Regions from separate parts of the Homo sapiens genome. Here region 2 is linked to region 1. Evidence: promoter capture Hi-C in human tissues and cell types (Jung and others, 2019). All regions are on one chromosome and are shown on one strand. The core of a region is centred on a gene start or on the middle of the fragment in contact, and the rest is flanking DNA. Distances in the headings are between cores, read along the strand shown.

Region 1 (4,521 bases), core at 1,154-3,653:
CCAACCTCAGGTGATCCGCCCACCTCGGCCTCCCAAAGGGCTGGGATTATAGGCATGAGCCACAGCGTCTGGCCACGAATTATTTTTTAAAGGCAAATTTTATGCGTATTTTACCACAATTAAAAGATACAGAGCCAAAGATATGTACCTGAAGTAGATGTATACACACTGCAAGATAAACAAAACTAACTCAGTGACACGCAAACATGCCTCCCTCCCTCCCGGGAGCACTTCTACCACCCAGATAAGACCCTGGTTGGTCCTCCCCTTCAAACAAATCTGGAGATAAGGCCCTAATGATGGCCCTGCCACCTCGGCTGCCCCCACAGCTCATCACCCTCCCACGGTCTGGCTTTGTTTACTCAACCTTCTGCCCCTCTTGCAGCCTCCTCACCCCCATGGAAGGGCCTCCTTGGAGTGCCCGGTGCTCCTGCACCTGGGATGGGATGGAGTAGGCCATAACTCCTGACCTGTGGCTCCCCCATGCTCCCCCAGGCCCTTCACTTATAGGGTCCTTGAAGACACAGCCCTAGCCCCATTCACCTTTGGTCCTAGGGCTCAGCTCAACTCCGGAACCTCTAAATCCCACCCAGCTCCCTCCCACTATATGTGTGTCAAGTTCTTTGGACACAGAAGACCCTGTGTTCCGGACATGATCGCAGACCAGATAAACCAAGTGCGCTTAGTGCTAAACAGGCTGCGAGGCACGGCTTTAGGTCTTCTGCGCTTCCCGCCATCCTCGCTGGACCTCATGCCTCCGTGGAAAGGTGGTGACCGCTTCTGCCTAGCCTGGCTCCCCAGCTGCAGCTGTCACCTGCTCACCCCCTTCCCCAGAGCAAAGCTGCTCACCATCCTCCGAAGGACACACGGTACATGCTCCAGGACTTTAATCTTTGTTGGGGCAGAGGTCAGAAATCTACCTGCCCTGTTTGCCTCCTGACCTTGCAGTGTGTCCGCCCATTCTCTGAAACAACCTTCCAACCATTTTCATACTCAGCCCTGGAGGAGGGGAAGAAGGCTGGGGTCTGGCCACCACCAGGCCAAGAACATCCCTGGAGTTAAGGGTGTTGCAAGCACAGCCATCTGGAACAGCATGTCTCAGGGGTGGGCCTTAGCCCACTGCCCACAGTGCACTGGGCACTTGTTTAAAAACTCAGGAATTTGAGGTTACAGTAAGCTATGATCACATCACTGCTCTCTCTAGCCTGGGTGACAGAGCAAGATCATGTCTCAATTAAAAAAGAAAAATGGCCAGGTGTGGCGGCTCACACCTGTAATCCCAGCACTTTGGGAGGCTGAGACAGGAGGATTGCTTGAGGCCAGGAGTTCAAGATCAGCCTGGGCAACATAGTGAGATCCCATCTCTAAAAAAATTTTAAAAGTAGCCGAGCATGGTAACATGCACCTGTAATCCCAGCTACTCAGGAGGCTGAGGTGGGAAGATCGCTCGAGTCCAGAGAAACTGAGGCACAGCTGTAGTGAGCTGTGATTGCGCCACTGCCCTCCAGACTGGGTGACAGAGCAAGACCCTATCTCAAAAAGAAAAAGAAAAAAGACAAGCTCCAGAAGCCTACGGACACCTTCTGGATGAGAATTTCCAGGAGGGTGGGGCCCGGGGATCTGCATTTCATCACCTCTCACCACCCCTGGGGTCAGGGTGAGAGCCACTGCTCTAGGTTCTTGAAGGACAGCTCCGAGCCGGGGTGGGAGAGAGCCAGGGGGCTGTGAGCACCACAGTTAAGATGATGGAGAGTGGCAGGACGATTATGGGAGCAAAAAGAGGGCTGGCTGGGGGACAGACCAGCGTTGATGTCCTTGGATATTCCATGTGACAGTCGTTCAGCTCTCAGGGCCTTGCAGACTTGAGCCAGGGCACGTGCTATCCACTGTGGTATGTGTTGTGGGGGTCATGGCCGGTCTCTACATCGGCGTTTGGGTGAAGAGTTTATGCAAGTGGATGTGATTACAATGTGTGGTCGGTCTGTGTCAGCCCACACTCCATGTCTGTGTATCGGTCAGTTGTCAGTGTGTCCATCTGCATGGGTGTTCATGTCTTTTCCTGGGTGTCTTGAGTCGCTCACCCACCTGCAGTGTGTGTGCGTGTGCGTGTGAGTGTGTGTTCCTGAGTCGCCTGGGCCCCTCTTGGCTGTAATTCAACCTCTGTGGGTCCCGGGAAGTCAGCATTTGGAGACTTGCTGGGAGCCTGGTGGGGATGGGGCGGCGTTGCTGGGAGGAAGAGAGGGAGGCAGGAGTGTGCACCGAGGGCCTGGCACTGCCGCTTCCCTGGGCAGGCGAGTCCCAACACAGGCAGACAGGTGGGGCTGACCTGACAGGTTCCAGAGGCCAGGGGCAATAGGGTGGAGCGTGGCTCTGATTTAGGGTGGCAACAGTTTGGGGGCCCTGCCACACACACAGCGAGCGGGCGGGCAGAAGGCGGTTCTGCTGGTCTCCTCTTCCTGCTGCAGCCAGCCCAGCGTGCGGGCCATGGGCCCTGCCGGCGGGTGAGGCAGCCGCGTGGCAGGCATGTTCGGAGGCCCGGGGCCTGGGGTCCTGGGAGCCCAGGGCATGGCGGGACCCCTGCGGGGCCGGGTGGAAGAGCTGAAGCTGCCGTGGTGGCGGGAGAGCTCACCGCTGGTGCTGCGGCACAGCGAGGCGGCTCGGCTGGCGGCCGACGCCCTCCTGGAGCGGGGTGAGGCTGCCTACCTGCGGGTCATCTCCGAGGAGCGGGAGCTGCCCTTCCTGAGCGCCCTGGATGTGGACTACATGACCAGCCATGTGCGCGGGGGCCCTGAGCTCAGCGAGGCTCAGGGGCAGGAGGCCTCCGGGCCAGACCGCCTCAGCCTGCTCTCTGAAGTCACCTCAGGGACTTACTTCCCCATGGCCTCTGACATAGACCCCCCAGACCTGGACCTGGGCTGGCCCGAGGTGCCACAGGCCACAGGCTTCAGCCCCACCCAGGCTGTGGTCCACTTCCAGAGGGACAAGGCCAAGAACATCAAGGACCTGCTGCGCTTCCTTTTCAGCCAGGCCCACACGGTAAGGGCCTCATCTCTCCATCACTCATCTCACAGAGGAGGAAACTGAGGTCCAGAGAGGGAAGGGACCAGCCCAAGGCCACACAGCGACTTAGGGGCAGAATGAGGACCAGCACCTCTGGCACTATTAGATTGCAAACTCCTAGAAGGGGGACATCCCATATTTACCTTGGCAACTGCTTGGTACCCAGGAATAGTATGGATGAGCATAGAACAGGGCATGGGTGTCAGGGACTCCACAATCCCCTGAAATGCACACGAAGTGGTGCAGGTTGGAGGGAGGAGTCCTCGCTGCATCTTTACCTTGGAAGATGCTCCACTGCCTTAAATCAGATTCTCAAAAAGTTTTATGATCCCCACACTAAGAACTCCAACCTTGGGGAACATCTGAGTCACCTCCTTCACTTATAGAAGAAGAAACTGAGGCCAGAGAGGGGCTTGGGACTTGCCCAGGGAGGTCCATATGGTGACATAGAGCTCAGGGCTTGGGGAGACAGGGGCTCTCTGACTTGGGTCCTGGGGACCAGTCCGGCCCTCCTTGCTGGCTCAGGTCCCTAGTTGCCCCCTACCCTCCTGCACCACATCTGCAGCTGGGCCTGAAGCAGGGGAAGGGGCCAGCGTGTGGGCCTCTTTGGCGTGGCCTTGAGGGCTGGGCTTTGGAACCAAGGAGGAAGGAGGAGAGGAGGCTGCTGGGCTCAGTGATGGGGAGCGGGAGCTCAGGAGAAAGAGAATTGGGAGGGCAGGTAGGGGTGGTCAGCACCCAGAAAGGCTCTGGCCACACACGAGCACAGCTTCCCTTCTGAAGCCCTGGCCTCCGACTCCAGGGGAATGGACGAGATGATCCCTGGCAGGGTTTGAGGGAGAGTTAGGCTCCTGCTGCAGAGATGGGAAGCCAGGATGCTGGGATCCCACCGGTACTTCCAGAGCCTCCCTGGCAAGCCTTCCTGTGCCCCAGGCAGGGGACGGCCAGGCCTGATTGGCATCAGGAATGGGGTTATTAGTGAGGCTGCTGCTGTCGTCCTCCTCACCCCTGCCTCTTTGATCTTCCTGCCTGTCCTTGTTCCCCCACCCTGGCCAGGCCTGTGCTGTGAACTAGGGCATCCCCCAGTGCCTCGCCTTCTCAGCCCCCATTTAGACCCCTCTATCCTGGGTCAGGAGCCAGGTTCGTGCACTGGGCTGTCATGACTCCTAGTGACCTTGGGAAATGCTGCGTTGCCCTGCAGCCCAATGTTTATAGAGCTCTGTTATGTCTTGAGCATTTTCACATTTAATTCCCTGTAACTCTGAGACATGGCTATCATTATCTCCATTTAACAGATGAGGAAGGTGAGGCTTCCAGAGGTGAAGGGACTCACCCAAAGCTGTGTCACCAGGAAGTGATAGAGTCCAGGTTTGAACCCAGTTCTTTCTGACTCCAGAGCTGGAGTGCTATGCTCTGTACCTCCTGCCTCTCGGCCCTGCCTGGGAGAGAAGACTCTCATAGCAG
Region 2 (4,521 bases), core at 1,017-3,516, 33 kb after region 1:
AAAAAAAAAAAGGATGCCCTGAGGTGGAGGGAGGGAGTGGGGACAAAGAGAGCAAGTCCTGGCAAACTGGCAGTCAGCTTCAGGAGACCCCGGGCAGGGCAGGTGGGGCCCGGGCGTGGGCAGCTCTCTGCAGGACCTTGGTTGTGGAAGCAGGGAACTGTTGGCTAAGATTGAGGCAGGGATTCAAGTGTAGGTGAAAACACACTCCAGGTCCTGGAAGTGGGACACAGGATCCTGAGGGTGGAACTGAGGCAGCTCCATGGCACGGTGGTTACGAGCTTGGGCTCCTGAGTAGGACAGATTACCTTCATTCCCCCTGCCAGTTTGTGAATATGGCCAGCAGGGCTACCCCTAAGCCTCAATGTCCTCACTTGTAAACTGGGGGCATCAGACCTACCTCACCGGGTTGTGTGAGGTTGAATAAGATACACGTGAAGTGCGTGGTATGACACAGAATGGCAGCTGTTGTAATCCTATGTAAGATAGAAGCTTGGTTACTGGAGGAAGCCCATTGACCAGAAAGGAAGCACGAGGCCAGTGGAGCGCCAGCAACCAGATCCTCTGAAAGCCAACTCCCCTGGGCTTCTGTATTGTGCCTAGGACAGGACAAGGAGGCCTGAACTTAGGGGGATGAAGTAACCGCAGCTTTGGGGAGAAAATGCAGGGGGTAGGGAGTCAGGTAGGCTGTGGATCACCAGTCCTGACTCCTGTCTGCCCAGTGTCAGACCCTTGCTTGCCTTGACCTCTGGCATTTGTAGCCCCTTGAGCCCTGCCTCTTATCTTCTGGCCCTAAGGCATGGCTCGGCCCATTCCTGCCACCTGTAAGTCCAGGGAGGCTGCCAGGAACCTAGGAGGTGGTCTAGAGTCCTACTGCCCACTCTGGCCCCAGCGTCACTGGCCTAGGGACACATGGGGGTGGGGATTGTTTGGCCTTCCTGGCTTAGGTCTCTGGAAGAGAGAAGAACCCCATGGGGCAGACCCAGGCCACGGGCAGTACATGCCTCCCACACTACTGACACCGCCAGTGTCTTCTGTGAAGCCACCTTTGAGCAACGGAAAGGAAGGGGGATGGGCAAGATCAGTGCAAGGTTGGCCAAAAGCCTGGGGCTGGCCTTCTGCTGGCATGAGAGGGCCAGGCCGCCCCCAGCTCCTTACTCAGGTCCTGGCCCCTCTGGCAGCAGGGAAGGGTGAGCTCATCGCTGAGCTCCATCCCAAACAAACTGGTAGAGCCAGCGGAAGGCAGCTCTGCTTCCTGGGGTCCAGTCCTGGCTGTGCTCCTGGGCTATTCTATGACCTGGGACAAGCTGTTCAGGGCCTCTGTCTCCTGAGCAGGCTCTTCCCCAGGGGCTGTCCACAGGGAGCTCAGCTGGGAACCAGGGAACACGGCTCTGAGCACTGTGGGAGACTCAAAACCTTTGTCCGCAGCCTTGTCTCTTGCTCTTTTAACCCCTGTTCTGGGTCTGCAGAGAACAGGAGTGACCCCTTAAAGGAAAGAGGCCTGTGGTTTGGGTCCAGGAACCAAAAGGAAGGGAAGAGCGAGGGAGCCAGTATCCTGCTGCACAGAAACCCAAGAGAGCCCTGAGGGGGAGACAGAGGGAGCAGGGCAGGGGCAGGAGGACTCCCTGAGCTTGTGAGGTGAAGGCAGAGGTATGAGGAGGAGAGGCCTGCTATGAGGACCCCATGCTCCATGGGCAGGAGGCTGCTAGGGTCTTCACTCTTCAAGAGGGTGAGCGGCAGGGAAGCAGAGTGGTCAGGAATGCAGTCTCTGGGAGCCAGACTGCCTGGTTTTGAATCCCAGCTCTGCCATGTCCTAGCAGTGTGACATTTTAAATTCTTCCTCTGGAAGATAGAAGGAACAATGGCACCTTCGTCATAGGGATGTGGGTGAAGATTCATGGGGCAGGGTGTGTAATGCGCTGATACCAGCTCCTGGTACAGAAGTATTACCCTTCATTAGCAGGGTCCTGTTGAGCTGTGTGTGAGCACCAGCACCCCTGATAGGGTGTGTTCCTGTAAGTCCCTGGGCCTCCGAGCAAGTCCCCAGCAGTCTACTCGGCTACTCAAGTGGACCTTGTCTCTGCCTCATTTCTTTCTTTTAGGATCTCCATATTTGGTCGTTCCCATCTCATTAACTCCCCCAGCCCCACGAAAGGTGATAGCATTTCCCTTTGCCTCTGTTCTTCTGCCAGTGCTGCCCCTTCCCCTGGAATAACCTGATTCCTTCAAAGTTCAGCTCCATGCCTGTCTTCCAGGAAGCCTTCCATGACTTCCCAGCTGGCAGTGAGTGCTCCTTCTGCTGTGCCCTCCCAGCAGTTTCCCTGAACTGCCTTTATGGCACTGACCGCTTCCTCCCCACGTGATTGCCACTAGTGCACATGCTCGCTGCCCCAGGACTGTGGGTTCCTTGAGGACAAGCTTTGTGTTGAAGAACCAGGTGACAGCCCCCGGAATGGAACAGCGCCAAAAGCACCGTATTTTACCAAGGGAAATACTCGGACCACCTGCAGCAGAACCACCTGTGGTGACTTAAAAATGCGGAGTCCTGGGGTCACACCTGGCTCTGCCACTTTCCAAAGGGGTGAATTTCCTATTTTTTTAAAAAGTATTTTCTTTCTTTTTTATTTTTGAGACAGGATCTCACTCTGTCACCCAGGTTGGAGTGTAGTGGTGCAATCTCGGCTCACTTGAACCTCCGCCTCCCGGGTTCAAGCCATTCTCCTGCCTCAGCCTCCCGAGTAGCTGGGATTACAGGCATGTGCCACCACACCCGGCTAATTTTTGTATTTTTAGTAGAGACGGGGTTTTGCCATGTTGGCCAGGCTGGTCTCGAACTCCTGACCTCAGGTGATCTGCCCCCCCTCGGCCTCCCAAAGTGCTGGGATTACTCCAGTGCTCCCATCGCACCTGGCCCGGGGAGCCTTTTAAACACATGGAGGAGGTGGGGAAGATATTCTGATTCAGGAGGTTTGGTTTGGGACGTAGGCAATCTTTTTTGTTGTTTTTTTTTTTTAAGTTCTCCAGGTGAATTGTATAATGGTTGGGTCAGGCTGACACAACCTGAAGCAAATGCTCGACCTCAACATCACTAAAAGTGGGACAGTCTGCATCATATGTATTTGCTAATATGGTGAATAGGAAGTACCAGCACCACCTAGGAAGTATTCTTGCCAAAAAAATTGAACTTGAATCTAGTCAGCCTGTAAATCTAATGAACAACATTCAGGAATTATGGGCAAGAGAGACGTATTAAAAGTAAACTTGATTCTAGTCACGCCAAATGATTATACTCGGGACACCTGACCCAGTTTCTTCAACAAATATATGGAGGGAAACGTGTGTGTAGGACGGGGGTGTTTTAAATAAAAAGGGCTTTAAGAGACATGTCAGCCATGTGTGTGTGGATCTTGTTTGGATCCTGATTCAAGCAAACAACTGTAAAAGACATTTCCAAGGTACTTTGGGAAAGTGAACTCGAACTGGGTATTAGATTTTAAAAAATTATTGTTAATTTTGTTGGGCTTGATAATGATTGTGTGCTTATGTTAAAAATTAGCCTTTATCTGTTAGAGGTATATACTAAAGTATTTAAAGGTGAAATGTTAGAATGCCTGAGATTTTCTTTAAAATACATCAGCCAAAAAAAGGTAGATAAATAGGAATGCCACAACGTTGATAATTGCTGAGGCAGGTGGTGGGTATCTGGGAGATCATAGAAGCATTCTTCCTACTTTTGTGAGTTTGAAATTTTCCATAATGAGAGTTTAGAAAAAAGAAGTAAGCTAATAAGTTCAAAAAGTTCCCAGGAAACTCCACCCCTTTGCTGAGTCTATGTGGAAATTAAACGAGATAATATATGGATGCTCAATAAATTTTGGTTCCTTGCCTCTCACCCAAAACCTGCCTTCACTGCATTCCAGTTCAGGAGTCGATTGCTGTGGTCCTGAGCTGCATCTGGACAGTTCCTGCTTGGTTTTCCAGAGCAGAGCAAAGTCCTGATTCTTATCCAAAGAAAACATTAGCAATCTTGGAATTTCTATCAGAATTGGCAGTCTTTCATGAAGGTTAGGGTTGGACAGATGGGAGAGGTGCTGGGATGGTGCCCATCCACAGGTCCCCGGTCCTTCCCACACATACCACCGGCTCTTGGGATTTGGGGGCTGGGTCCAACAAGTTCTGCAAAAGCAAGGAGCAGGTGTGGGAAGTGCACACCCCCAGTGCTGGGCAGAAGGGGAGGGCAGAGGAGTGGGAGTGTCTTCCCGTTGCCTCTGGACAACTCTTTGGACATTCATTTGCCTCTATCAGGAATATAACTAAAACCCTATCAGCTAACAGTGCCTGGCACATAACAGGGCCTCAAAAATATTAGTTCTCTTCTCCTCACATCTTATCTGTTAGCACAGACAGCCATTCGTTGACACCGATCCAAAAATAAGAATGAGATAAAGAACAGGTACTCAGCCAGGAATACATGCAGGACATACGGGAGAGATACCAGGGCAAAGGAAACGGAGTTCAATAGGA

What was found. Contacts are between HindIII fragments. The study calls those that stand out against the background at their distance.
Region 2: a contact is called between a fragment that was not itself captured here and the fragment with the promoter of FAM83C in region 1, in 2 of the 25 tissues and cell types used here (adrenal gland and spleen).

The regions. Positions count from the first base shown.
Region 1 is chr20:35,290,307-35,294,827 of GRCh38, reverse strand. It overlaps FAM83C (family with sequence similarity 83 member C), which reads left to right and starts at 2,403. Exons shown (of 4, transcript NM_178468.6): 1 at 2,403-3,036. The coding sequence starts at 2,524. The HindIII fragment of the contact is 12,597 bases long and covers 1-4,001 here.
Region 2 is chr20:35,257,286-35,261,806 of GRCh38, reverse strand. The region is part of intron 2 of MMP24-AS1-EDEM2 (MMP24-AS1-EDEM2 readthrough); the gene reads left to right. All of the region lies in intron 4 of MMP24 (matrix metallopeptidase 24), which reads right to left. Among named protein-coding and RNA genes, the nearest start is that of MMP24-AS1-EDEM2, 19 kb to the left of the region's middle. RefSeq lists an enhancer at 1-533. The HindIII fragment of the contact is 5,720 bases long and covers 1-4,521 here.